Linked DNA regions of Homo sapiens: regions 2 and 3 are each linked to region 1. Evidence: promoter capture Hi-C in human tissues and cell types (Jung and others, 2019). All regions are on one chromosome and are shown on one strand. Each heading gives the region's core, a stretch centred on a gene start or on the middle of the fragment in contact. The rest is flanking DNA. Distances are from core to core; before and after follow the strand shown. Region 1 holds the start of SNTG1 (syntrophin gamma 1). Region 2 overlaps SNTG1 (syntrophin gamma 1). Region 3 has its middle 250 kb from the start of SNTG1.

Region 1 (3,719 bases), core at 1,119-3,618:
TTCTTTTACTGGCAGGACAGAGGGAGGGGGATAGAAAGATTGAGAGAGACCGCATAAAACTCAATCAGTGCTCAGGAAGAAAAGAATCTGTTCTTCTAGGTCTGAATAATCAAGTGCATATGTTTTTAATTAGCAACATCTTTGTACTCTGTGCTTCATTTAAATGCTCTTATTTGGTGTGTTGATTTTCTGTGGTTATTCATGTTTCCGTATGTCCTGATAAAATAATTTAAACAATCAATTAAATCAACCTTAGTAAGCATAGAATTAAATACAGCAGAGAAAAGCTTCTTTGCTGACAAGGACGGATAGCCCCTGATTAGCATAACCCTCACACGGGGGGTTTGTTTTAATCATCTAACAAAAAGGGGGCATTTTCTGAAACACACACGACAGGTATTGTTTCTGCAGAAAAAAGAAGCACGTGTTTCACCACATTTGTCTAAGGAAAAGGGAAACTTCATTTACCATAACCTTAAGCAACGTTTTCACATGGACTGAAAAGCAAAAGACCCCCTTAAAAATTAGCCTCAAGCAGCAGATACTCTCTTTTTAGGTTTGTGTGTCTCCGTGAGGTCAGATGGATTCCCCAAACACGGTTTTAGAGAGAATCACAACCTTTAATAGATCCTCTGTTAAAAAAGACTGTTAGAGAAAGTTGACCAAGGGCTTCGTTCCACGGCGACCGTTTCCTGCGTGTGCAGCTCCACACAGCGACCGCGGCCTGCAATGTGCGGAGCACAGCGCGGCCCCTTCCAGCCGGAGCTCGCGAGCCGCGGTGGCGGCTGGTGGCCACCCCAGGGAAATAAAGCCGTTGCTGCTGCAGCAAAATGGCTCAAAGTCCAACCAAAGTCTGGCCTTTTCCTGTGAGTAAATACGCGGCCTGTTTGGTTTTCCGTCCCGAGTGATTCCCGGCTCAGTAACGTTTCTCCTCCAGGGAGCCCACTGGAACTCCACTGGCTGTGCCGCCTCCTCGCCCGTCCCCCGCGCGCGCCGCAGGCCGGTGCTTGGAGAGCGCAATGTCCCCGGGAGGGAAGATCCCCTACCTGGAATGGATGGTTCCAGACCAGCGGGAACGCGCTCTAATCCTTGATGGAAGCAAGCGTGGGAGGAAAGCACAACGTCTAGGACTTCCCTGTAGTGTCAGAACAGGAAGAAGAACCTGAGAAGTCGCCGGGGAAGGGAGGCCAGGAGCAGGCGTCCGGCCCCTTCCCACAGCCCGGGAGAAATTAGTGTTGCGCCCCGCCCCTCCCGGACCCCCGTCCCCACCACACACACCAGCGCCCCTCACCAGTCTTTCTCGAATTTCCTCTCATGTCTATCAATAACCTCCTTGTGCAGAAATCTACACTGCACAAGTTAGGAGTCTGCAAGGGCGGGCGGTGTTACAGTCTCGCTCTTTCCATTTTCCCCTTTTACTCCACATAGTTTCAAAGGTCCACATGGCCCTGGTTTTGACCAGTTTTCCAACAGTTTCAACGTTATGTATTTCAACTTCCCGTCTCAGTTCACTGGCGTCTGCACCCGTTGCCGAGTGTGGGTGGCTGAGCCCTGGGTGACAGCACTCGGGACCACGCACCCATACCCTTCTTTATGCTCGTTGTCAGCCAGTTGCCAAGAGCGGGAGTGAAGAGCCTGCAAGGCCCGGGAGAGCGCGGATTCCGGAGTAGGGAGGCGAGGGGGCAGCGTGGGAGACCAGAGGGAAAATGGGCTGAAAAGCCAACAAAAAAAACAACGTAAATTGGGCTTTGCTCTGGCTTTACAAAGGCAGAGATTGTCGAGCCCTCTGACTGTCTTTGTGCCTTCTTTATCCCGTCCTTTGTGAAATAAGCCGTTTTCTGCCCCCACTGCAGGAGCCTAGGCTGTGGGCGACTCGCTAGCACTGCCCTGGGCCTCCAAGCTGCCTGCTCGCTGAGCTCAGCGCTGACACTCACAGGAGCTGCGTTCGCCGGATCCTCTGAGAGGCTCTGCAACGATCCCGATCCAATTCAGCAGCGTTTTAAAAGGTAGCCGAGTGCAGATGCTTTTTCCTGTCTTTTTCATTCTTTCATTCTCTGTCTTTTAAAATTTTAACAATAACCTATCGTTTCCGCGTGGAGGGTCTAAGAATCTTCACTGGGTTTAATTTAGGAATTTCAAATTGGGTTTCTCAAAATTTGAATGTGGTCCCCTTAATTGGTAATCAAGATTGCGGAGTTTTCCAAAATATTCCTTTTCATCTTATGTAATTAAAGATCCACGAGCTTTCCAAAGAAGCTCTGGATTTTCCACGGTACAAATCTATATATTTTTTCTCTCTCTTCCTCTCTCTCTCTCTCTGCCTCTCTCGTGCGTGTATGTGCGCGCCCCTGTGCGTGCGTTTTCTTTCATTTCTGGCATTAGGAAACTCGTGCAGGGCCACTGAAAAGTCAGGGGAGGCTCAGATGTTATTTCCCAGGGATTCCTGTTTTTCCAGAAACGTTGTCACCAAATAAGTATGAGACTGTTAATTTGGAGAAACAATTAGCCCCTACAAAAAAAAAAAAGAAAGAAAAAAGAAAAAAAAAAGAACCGGAGGGGAGAAGGCTAGGGCGGAAGACAAGGAAGCTGCTGCTTGGATTCGCTGGTGGAGGAAAGTGCGACCTGGACCTGCGCTTAGGGGCTCCCGTCCCCTTACTTCAGCACCAGAGGGGATGGACAGCGTCTCCGGACTGAGCTGCAGCCACAGGGACGGAACTACGCTGCCGCCGCCGCTGTCCTTGCCGCCACTGTCGTCGCCACGGGCAGCTGGGCTACTTGCTCCTCGCAGCTAAAAGGCGGTGCCTCCTATTACCCCCTCGCCTCCCGGCCCCCTTCCTTAATGGATGAAAAGTACCCCTCCCTCTACACCTGCTGTACCTAAGGACAGGACTCTGAGGAGTACTCTTGCTCCACAGATTAAACTCTCAGCAGCAACTTCAAGAATCATTTTTCTATAGGGGTCTGGGAGGAATTCTGGAGGAGAGTAAAGTCGAAGTTCTTAGAAGCTCTGAGAAATCATGGGCCGTGCGGTAGGGGTTGAAATGCTCAAAGGTCCACACTTCTTGAAATAAACAGAATGGTCTTGAGTGGATTGCAACTGTTTTGGAAATAGCTTTGTGAAAAGAGGGTGGAGAGCTACTCAAAATTCTACGTTAGAGAGACTGAAAAGACATCTAATTTCATTGCTCGGCAGGTAAGTGATAGCGCTATTATTTTTGTTTTTTAAAATTCTAATGACTTGTCTTATGGTTTAACAGAAAGATCATAAGCAGTGTAATTTTTTCTGGGGTTAACGAGGAGACAAGCAATTTTGTTTTAAAATAATTGTTTCTGGATCATTGTGTGACAAGAAGAATCAAAATAACATACATGTTGCCTTACATAATTACAGTAAACTTTTAGCTGGCCATTTTTCTTATTGCTTATCTAATATCTTTTTGGATCTGGCATATCTTGTTTATTTTTTCCCAAAACTAATGCAATCGTTTGGCAAGATAATTTTGTTGTCTTATGTATGCCATAAAAAGTGATCCTGTCTGTGTTACATAGTATGCAAGACTAAAAAAGTTAAAATAGAGAGGGTTTAACCATGCCCTCTAACATATTTTATATTGTTATAATATACTAAACTATGCATGGGAACAAATACATGTATACATATACACCAGATTTCTCACTCCATGCCAACCTCCAAGTATACCTACACCTGTAGGATCTTA
Region 2 (3,712 bases), core at 1,072-3,571, 230 kb after region 1:
TGTATATTTGCTTACATTTGTGTAGATTTTTGTGTACATATATTTGCATATATTTATGTACATTTGTGTATATCTGTGGGTATTTATGTTCCTATAGTTCAGATTACAATGAATTCTGACTTTTGGCATATAGCAGGGGAAATTATGTTATCAACATTTTAAAAAACATTTTTAATTGCAGCAAAATATTGTACTGAATGTACACATCACAATTTATGTAACCAATCATTTATATTTGAACATGCAATTTTTTACTCTAAAATTGCTGTGGATATTTGTATGCATAATTTCTAAATATGACTTATTTGCCTAGGTAAACCCTAAATATGGATGTAGTCTAAGAGTGTAAGCTTTTAGGCTTTAACCCATGTTGACTAGCACTCCCAGAAGAGCTGCAATATGTAAGACGGTGTCATTAACCTAGAAAACAGAATGCCTGTGTCATGTCTGCCAACATTCAACTTAGTTAAAATCCCCAAATATATGCTAAAATAACTCCAACTATTTTATTAAAAGTCCATCAGTGAAAACTTAAAAGACTAGAAAGACACATCATTTGATGTGTTATAGTATGCCCTACTCTGGGAGATTGAGCAAGGAAAAGAAGAAAGAGCCCTCTACATTTATGGGACTCTAGAATTATCTTAATGCACTCCACGGTTGGGCCATTTGAAGAAACAGCTAATTATCTTTCATGTGCCCACTGTGCACATTCCCCAGATACCTGGCAAGATTGCAAAGCACCAGAGCCAAGAGTGAGTCACTGGAATTTAAAGGAGATGAGAACATTTGCAGAAAGATTCACAGTGACTCTTAGTGATGAGTAAACTCAGATAGCTCAGTAATGTAGTTCAGTTTAGAATAGTCTTGCCAAATTCAGTTGATGTCTGAAGCTTTTCACATGTCACTAGCGAGCTTTGTGTTTCTGTTTTATATTGCAAAGAAAACAATGCAAAAATTAAAATAAGTGCTGGAGTAAATGGCCGCGAAACTTGCAATGTCATGAAGATAATATATTGTTCTGTAAGGTCCCAGTTTATTTGATAAAAAATAATCAATCAACCAATAAGCACTGATGAGGCAAATCTTTGTTCTGTGTGATGCTGGAAATCAAGAAGTGTGAGACAGAAATCTAACATTTAAAGAGGGGTCAACTGATTCCACTATTGTTATTGTAGTTGAGAAGGGTTTCTGGAAGGATCCCACATTGTCACACATGGCATTGCATCTTTCCAGTTGTATCCATGTTCAGTCTTCTTCTGAGCCTAATGAACTGCTAAAGGTGATGCTTCCTTTCTCAGCCAGATTTCCCATTCTGGTTCATCTTGAACATGTGTGTGTCTGAAAGAGAGTGTGTATGTACGGTGTGTATATGCCTTATGTATGTGTATGTGGGTGTAAGAGTGTGTGTGTTTGCGAGAATGTGTGTGTATTTTATGTGGTGTGGTCAGTGTGGGTATGAGTGTTAGAAACTGTGTATGAGAATGTTCATGTTAGTGTGTATGTGTGAATGTTTATAGTATGTGGATGTAAGTCTGAATGTGGATGGGTGGGTGTGAGTGTGTTTTTGAGTGTGTGTGCACATACATAATACAAACTCCCCCTTGGCCTGCAGAGACCAAGTGCCAACCTCACTTGTCTTTCATTTTAAATGCTTAAAGCATTAAGTTCATATTTTGACATATCTATCTTCATTCCTTCTTTATGGGAGGATCTTTCTGGATCATCTTTAAAACATGGTCATTTTGGAAACAGGGAGATTGTTTTCATCTCACCTCACACATCATTGTACAAATACTTGTATACATTGGTTCCATTATAAAGAAGTAGGTTGAGGGAGCAACCATCTAAGCTCTTTACTAATTATATTCTAAATCAGTGTGCTCATTGTCTGGTTTCCAAAGCAACGGCTTTAACATCCCCTGGAAACTTGATAGAAATTCAAATTATTTGGCCCACACCAGACCCACTGGAACAGAAACTCTGTAAGAATGCATGAAAATGTGTTTCTTCAGTGATCACTTGAAAGATACATGGAGTCTCCAGGTTTCGCTGATTATGAATTAGCCTGCTGTTCACGTTTTAGGCAGGTCTTCCTATGAATGTCTCTTTTCAACTTTCTTACTTAAATATATGGGAATAGGATTGCCAGATCAGATAGTAAGTGCAGGATTGCTACATCAGATGGTAAGTGCATGTTGAACTTCATAAGATACCTCTGAATGCCCACCAGCAACCTGTAAGAGCTTCAGCTCTTCATCCTTGCCAACCCTTAGTCTGCATTTTTTCATTTGTTTCACTTTTGTTTTTAATTTCCAGAATTCTAGTAGGTGTGCAATTGTTCCACATCTTGGGTTTAATTAGCATTTTCCTAATGATTAATAAACAAAAATTGTGACTACTAATGGTTCAAACCTACCTAAACGCTTGCAATGAGAGATATGAATATGTGCAAAAATGGACATGTGCTAGGAAGGTTAGCTAATTAAGCTTCCATATAATTATTTATCCATTTAAAATGGAACATTTTGAGTATCTGAAACACATTAGTTACTATGTGATCATTAAGATACACAGCAATGACAACAACAAAATGACATGAAATCCACCTTAGAGAATTCTTAATTTAGTGGAGGGTGAAAATGTAAGTTTAATGCCTTACAACATGTTGTATAAATGTTCTACTAGATAGATCTACAGAGAAAGAATTAGAGGACCACAAGGAACCAATAACATATCTCATGATAAAGATTCAGTTAAGGTTTCATAATGCATAATTATGTATATTTATAATTTAATAATATTGAAAATAAAAGAAAATAAAAGCTGGGCATATATATGTGTGTTTCATTATTTGTCATCCTTTACAATGGCATATAACTATTACACACACACTCACACATAGATACAAATTATTTATATTGACACCTATTATTGCAAAATCAGCTCACACTCTATTTTTCTATAACTTACTTTTTATCTTTAAATGTTATGACATTTCTTTCTGGGTCACTATAATTGTGTATGTTTGTAGGTTTACCTAATTGTTTCTTATGGCTTCATGATATTTTATAGTATAGCTGTAATATTGTTATCTAAACATTTTTAAAGTTATTTAGCCAGAAAACATACATTTCTTAAACACTTCCCACGACAGGCATTTTACAAGATCTGGGAACACAAGAATGAATTCCTCTGTGTGTTTTCTACAGAAACCCAGACTACAGTTAAGATGAAGGATATAATATGATTTATAATACAAGGACATAAAGTTTATAACAGAGGAGCTATAAACAAAGAAAAGTGAGGAAGAGAGTAGGAGCTTGAAGAAGAATTCACAAGGAATTTCATAGCAAACATAAAAATTTTGCTTTTTACTTTTTAACACAAACCTGCAATTAAAAAGATTATATATATATATATATATATTTGGGTTGAATGAATCAAGCAGTTGGTTAAGTGAGAGAATTTATTTATTTTTTAAGAAAAGGTAACCAGAAGTAAAATGAATGTTGATAACATTGTAGTTAGGTTTATTCAGGAAGAGATAAGGTTTTGTTAAAGAAGCTGATGGTAAATGAAGTAAAATTTTCTAATGGCTTGCATTTTTACTTTATACAAGTGTTACAAGCATATGAATACAGGTTGATGGATGTATTTCATCATGTTAAAACCTCTCACTGAAATTTTGCAAAAGCAAGACAAATTAAAA
Region 3 (3,791 bases), core at 238-2,737, 250 kb before region 1:
TCCTGCACACTCCTTTCCCACACCGTAGCATCCCAGGGCCCAAAGCAACTCCCTGACATCACTTTGCCAGTGCATGTGTGCATGGATTAGTCTTGCTTTTCTTGCCCCACCAACATGAGTGTGTGCATGCACCCTGCCCTGCCACTGCTGTGGTGGGGGTGCAGTCCACTCTCCTCTCCCTGCCAACCACGATTACAGTTGAAGCCTTGGCAGGCACAGAGCCAGCCAGCCCCACCCCCATCAGTGCCCTGCCCTTGTGCCAACACTGCCATGGAACTTAAACTAGGCACAGAAACAACAGATCCTCCTCAGCCCTGAAAAACTACCCCTTCCTGCAGCACACACAGAATGGGCACAGACCTGTGCCCACCAGCACCTTGCCCCTGTGCCAATACAACCACCAGTGAAGCCACATGCACAGTCACCAGGAGGGGCCCCCCACCCTCCCAGCCACATTGCCTTCACCACTGTGGTTAACACCCACAATGAGGCAAGCACCCCAGCACGCACTAGTACTCTGCTGCAGCCAACGAGCGTGCACCCCACAGTGCTGTCACTGACGCTGCTACTGGCATGTGCAAATGAGTACAGATCCCACTGTCATGCCACTATGAAATGCTTTGGCTGACACAACACATCAGAGTGAAGTGACCAGCAGTCCAGGGGTACCTTGCCCTCTGACCCAGTGCAGTAGATTCCTAACATCAGGGAGCAAAAGAACAAAGTTAGGGCCTGATACAAATCCCCCAGAGTTACAGCATGCAGTCCAGGAACTGGGAACTGAGCCCTCTAAAATTTTCCAGAAATGAAGCCAGTTGTCTGAATCCACCTTATACGACAATCAAACCCTCAAAATCATCAAACAAAATAAAAGAAAAAAACATCCAAAGGCCAGCAGCCTCAAAGATTGAAGGAACATAAGCCCACAAAGACAATAAAGAACCAGTGCAAGAACCCTGACAACACAAAAAGCCAGAGTGCCTTCTTTTCTTCAAATGACTGCACCACTACTCCAGCAAGGGTTTTGAACCAGGCTGAGATGGCTGAAATGATGGAAATAGAATTCAGATAATGGATATAAAAATATCATTGAGATGCAGGAATACATTGAAACCCAATCCAAGGAAGCTAAGAATCACAATAAAACAATGCAGGAGCTGACAGACAAAATAGCCAGTAGAGAAAAGAACATAACAAACCTGACAGACTGAAAAATACACTATCAGAATTTCATAATACAATCACAAGTATTAACAGCAGAATGGACCAGGTCAGGAAAGCATCTCAGAGCTTAAAGACTGACTTTCTGAATTAAACAGTCAGACAAGAATAAAGGAAAAGGAATGAAAAGAAACAAAACCTCCCAGGAGTATGGAATAATTCAGAAACCAAATCTATGACTCACTGATGTCACTGAAAGACATGTGGAGGGTGTAAGCAATTTGGAAAGCATATTTTAGGATATCATCCATAAGAACTTGCCCAACCTAGCTGGAGAGACCAACATGCAAATCAAGAAATGCATAGTACTCCAGTAAGATACTCCACAACAAGTTCATCCTGAAGGCACATAATCATCAGGTTTTCCAAGGTCAAAATGAAAGAAAAAGTGTTAAAGGCAGCTAGAGAGAAAAGCCAGGTCATCTGCAAAGAAAAGTTCATCAGACTAACAGCAGATGTCTCAGCAGTAACCCTATAAGTCAGAATAAATTGGGGGCCAAAATTCAACATTCTTAAATAAAAGAAATTCCAACACAGAATTTTATATCTGGCCAAACTAAGCTTCATAAACAAAGGAGAAAAATGTTTTTCAGACAAGCAAATGCTGAAAGAATTTTTTACCAACAGACCTGCCTTAGAAGAGCTACTGAAAGAAGCACTAAATCTAGAAAAGAAAGAACATTACCAGCCACTACAAAAACACAGTGAAGTACACAGACCAGTGACACTATAAAGCAACCACATAAACAAGTCTGCATAATAACCAGCTAACATCAGGATAACAGGATCAAATACACACAAACCAGTATTAACCCTGAATGTAAATGGGCTAAATGCCCAAATTAAAAGGCACAGAGTGGCAAGCTGGATAGAGTTAAAACCCATTGGTGTGCTGTCTTCAAGAGACCCATCTCGTGCAATGACACCTATAAGCTCAAAATAAAGAGATGGAGAAAAATCTATCAAGCAAATGAGAAACAGAGAAAAGCAGGAGTTGCAATCCTAATTTCAGACAAAATAGACATTATACCAACAAAGATCAAAAAAGACAAAGAAAGACATTACATAATGGTAAAGGGTTCAATTCAACAAGACCTAACTATCCTAAATATACATGCACCCAACACAGAAGTGCCAAGATTCATAAGGCAAATGCTTAGACACCTTCAAAGACACAGACTCCCACATAGTGGGAGATTTAAACACCCCAACAACAGCTTAGAAATATTATTAAGGTAGAAAATTAACAAAAATTTTCAGGACCTAAACTCAGCACTGGGTCAGATGGACCTGACAGATATCTACAGAACTCTCCACCCAAAAAGAACAGAATATACATTCTTCTCATTGCCACAAGGCACATACTCTAAAATCAATCAAATCATCAGACACAAAACACTCCTTGGTGAATGGAAAATAACTGAAATCATAGTAATCAGACCACAGCACAATCAAATTATAAATCAAGACTGAGAATTCACTCAAATCTACACACAATTACATGGAAATTGAATAACTTGCTCCTGACTGACTTTTGGATAAATAATGCAATTAAGGCAGAAATCAAGAAGTTCTTTGAAGCTAATAAGCACAAAGATACGATATACAAGAATTTCTGGGATACAGCTAAGGTAGTGTTAAGAGGGAAATTTATCAGGGCCAAGATGGCCAATTAAAAGTAGCTGTAATACAGTCTCAGTATACAAAATTAAGGTGCAGAAAATCACAAGCATTCCTATACGGCAACAACAGACAAGCAGAGAACCAAGTCATAAATGAACTCCCATTCATAACTGCTAAAAAGAGAATAAAGCACCTAGGAATACAGCTAACAAGGGAAGTGAAGGATCTCTTCAAGGAGAACTACAAACCACCACTCAAGGAAATAAAAAAGAACACAAACAAATGGAAACACATTGCATGTTCATGGATAGGAAGGATCAATATAGTGAAAATGGCCATACTGCCCAAAGTAATTTATAGATTCAATGCTATTCCCATTCAAAGATCACTGGCATTCTTCACAGAATTTGAAAAAAAAAATGCTTTCAAATTCATATGCAACCAAAAAAGAGCCTGAAGAGCCAAGACAATCTGAAGTAAAAAGAACAAAGCTGGAGGCATCATGTTACCCAACTTCAAACTATACTAGAAGACTGCAATAATCAAAAAAGCATGGTAGTGTTACAAAAGCAGACACATAGACCAATGGAACAGAATAGGTATCTCAGAAACAAGACTGCACATCTACAACCATCTGATCTTTGACAAACCTGACAAAAACAAGCAATGAGGAAGGAATCCTCTATTTAATAAATGGTGCTGGGAGAACTGGCCAGCCACATGCAGAAAATTGAAACTGGACCCCTTTCTTACACCCTATATAAAAAATAACTCAAGATGAATTAAAGACTTAAATGTAAAACCAAAAACTGAAAACCCTAGAAGAAAATTTAGGCAATAATATTCAGGACATAGACACGGGCAAAGATTTCATGAAGAAAATACCAAAAGCAATTGCAACAAAAGCCAAAATTGATGAATGGGATCTAATTAAAAAAAAAAAGAGC

What was found. Contacts are between HindIII fragments. The study calls those that stand out against the background at their distance.
Region 2: a fragment that was not itself captured here is called in contact with the fragment with the promoter of SNTG1 in region 1 in 2 of the 25 tissues and cell types used here (dorsolateral prefrontal cortex and hippocampus).
Region 3: a fragment that was not itself captured here is called in contact with the fragment with the promoter of SNTG1 in region 1 in 2 of the 25 tissues and cell types used here (IMR-90 fibroblasts and spleen).

Annotation. Positions count from the first base shown.
Region 1 is chr8:49,909,039-49,912,757 of GRCh38, forward strand. SNTG1 (syntrophin gamma 1) reads left to right here and starts at 2,369. Exons shown (of 19, transcript NM_018967.5): 1 at 2,369-3,193. RefSeq lists an enhancer at 1,274-2,218. The HindIII fragment of the contact is 7,737 bases long and covers 1-3,719 here.
Region 2 is chr8:50,139,068-50,142,779 of GRCh38, forward strand. The region is part of intron 1 of SNTG1 (syntrophin gamma 1); the gene reads left to right. Among named protein-coding and RNA genes, the nearest start is that of SNTG1, 230 kb to the left of the region's middle. The HindIII fragment of the contact is 3,401 bases long and covers 622-3,712 here.
Region 3 is chr8:49,658,785-49,662,575 of GRCh38, forward strand. No RefSeq gene overlaps it. Among named protein-coding and RNA genes, the nearest start is that of SNTG1, 250 kb to the right of the region's middle. The HindIII fragment of the contact is 3,269 bases long and covers 1-3,122 here.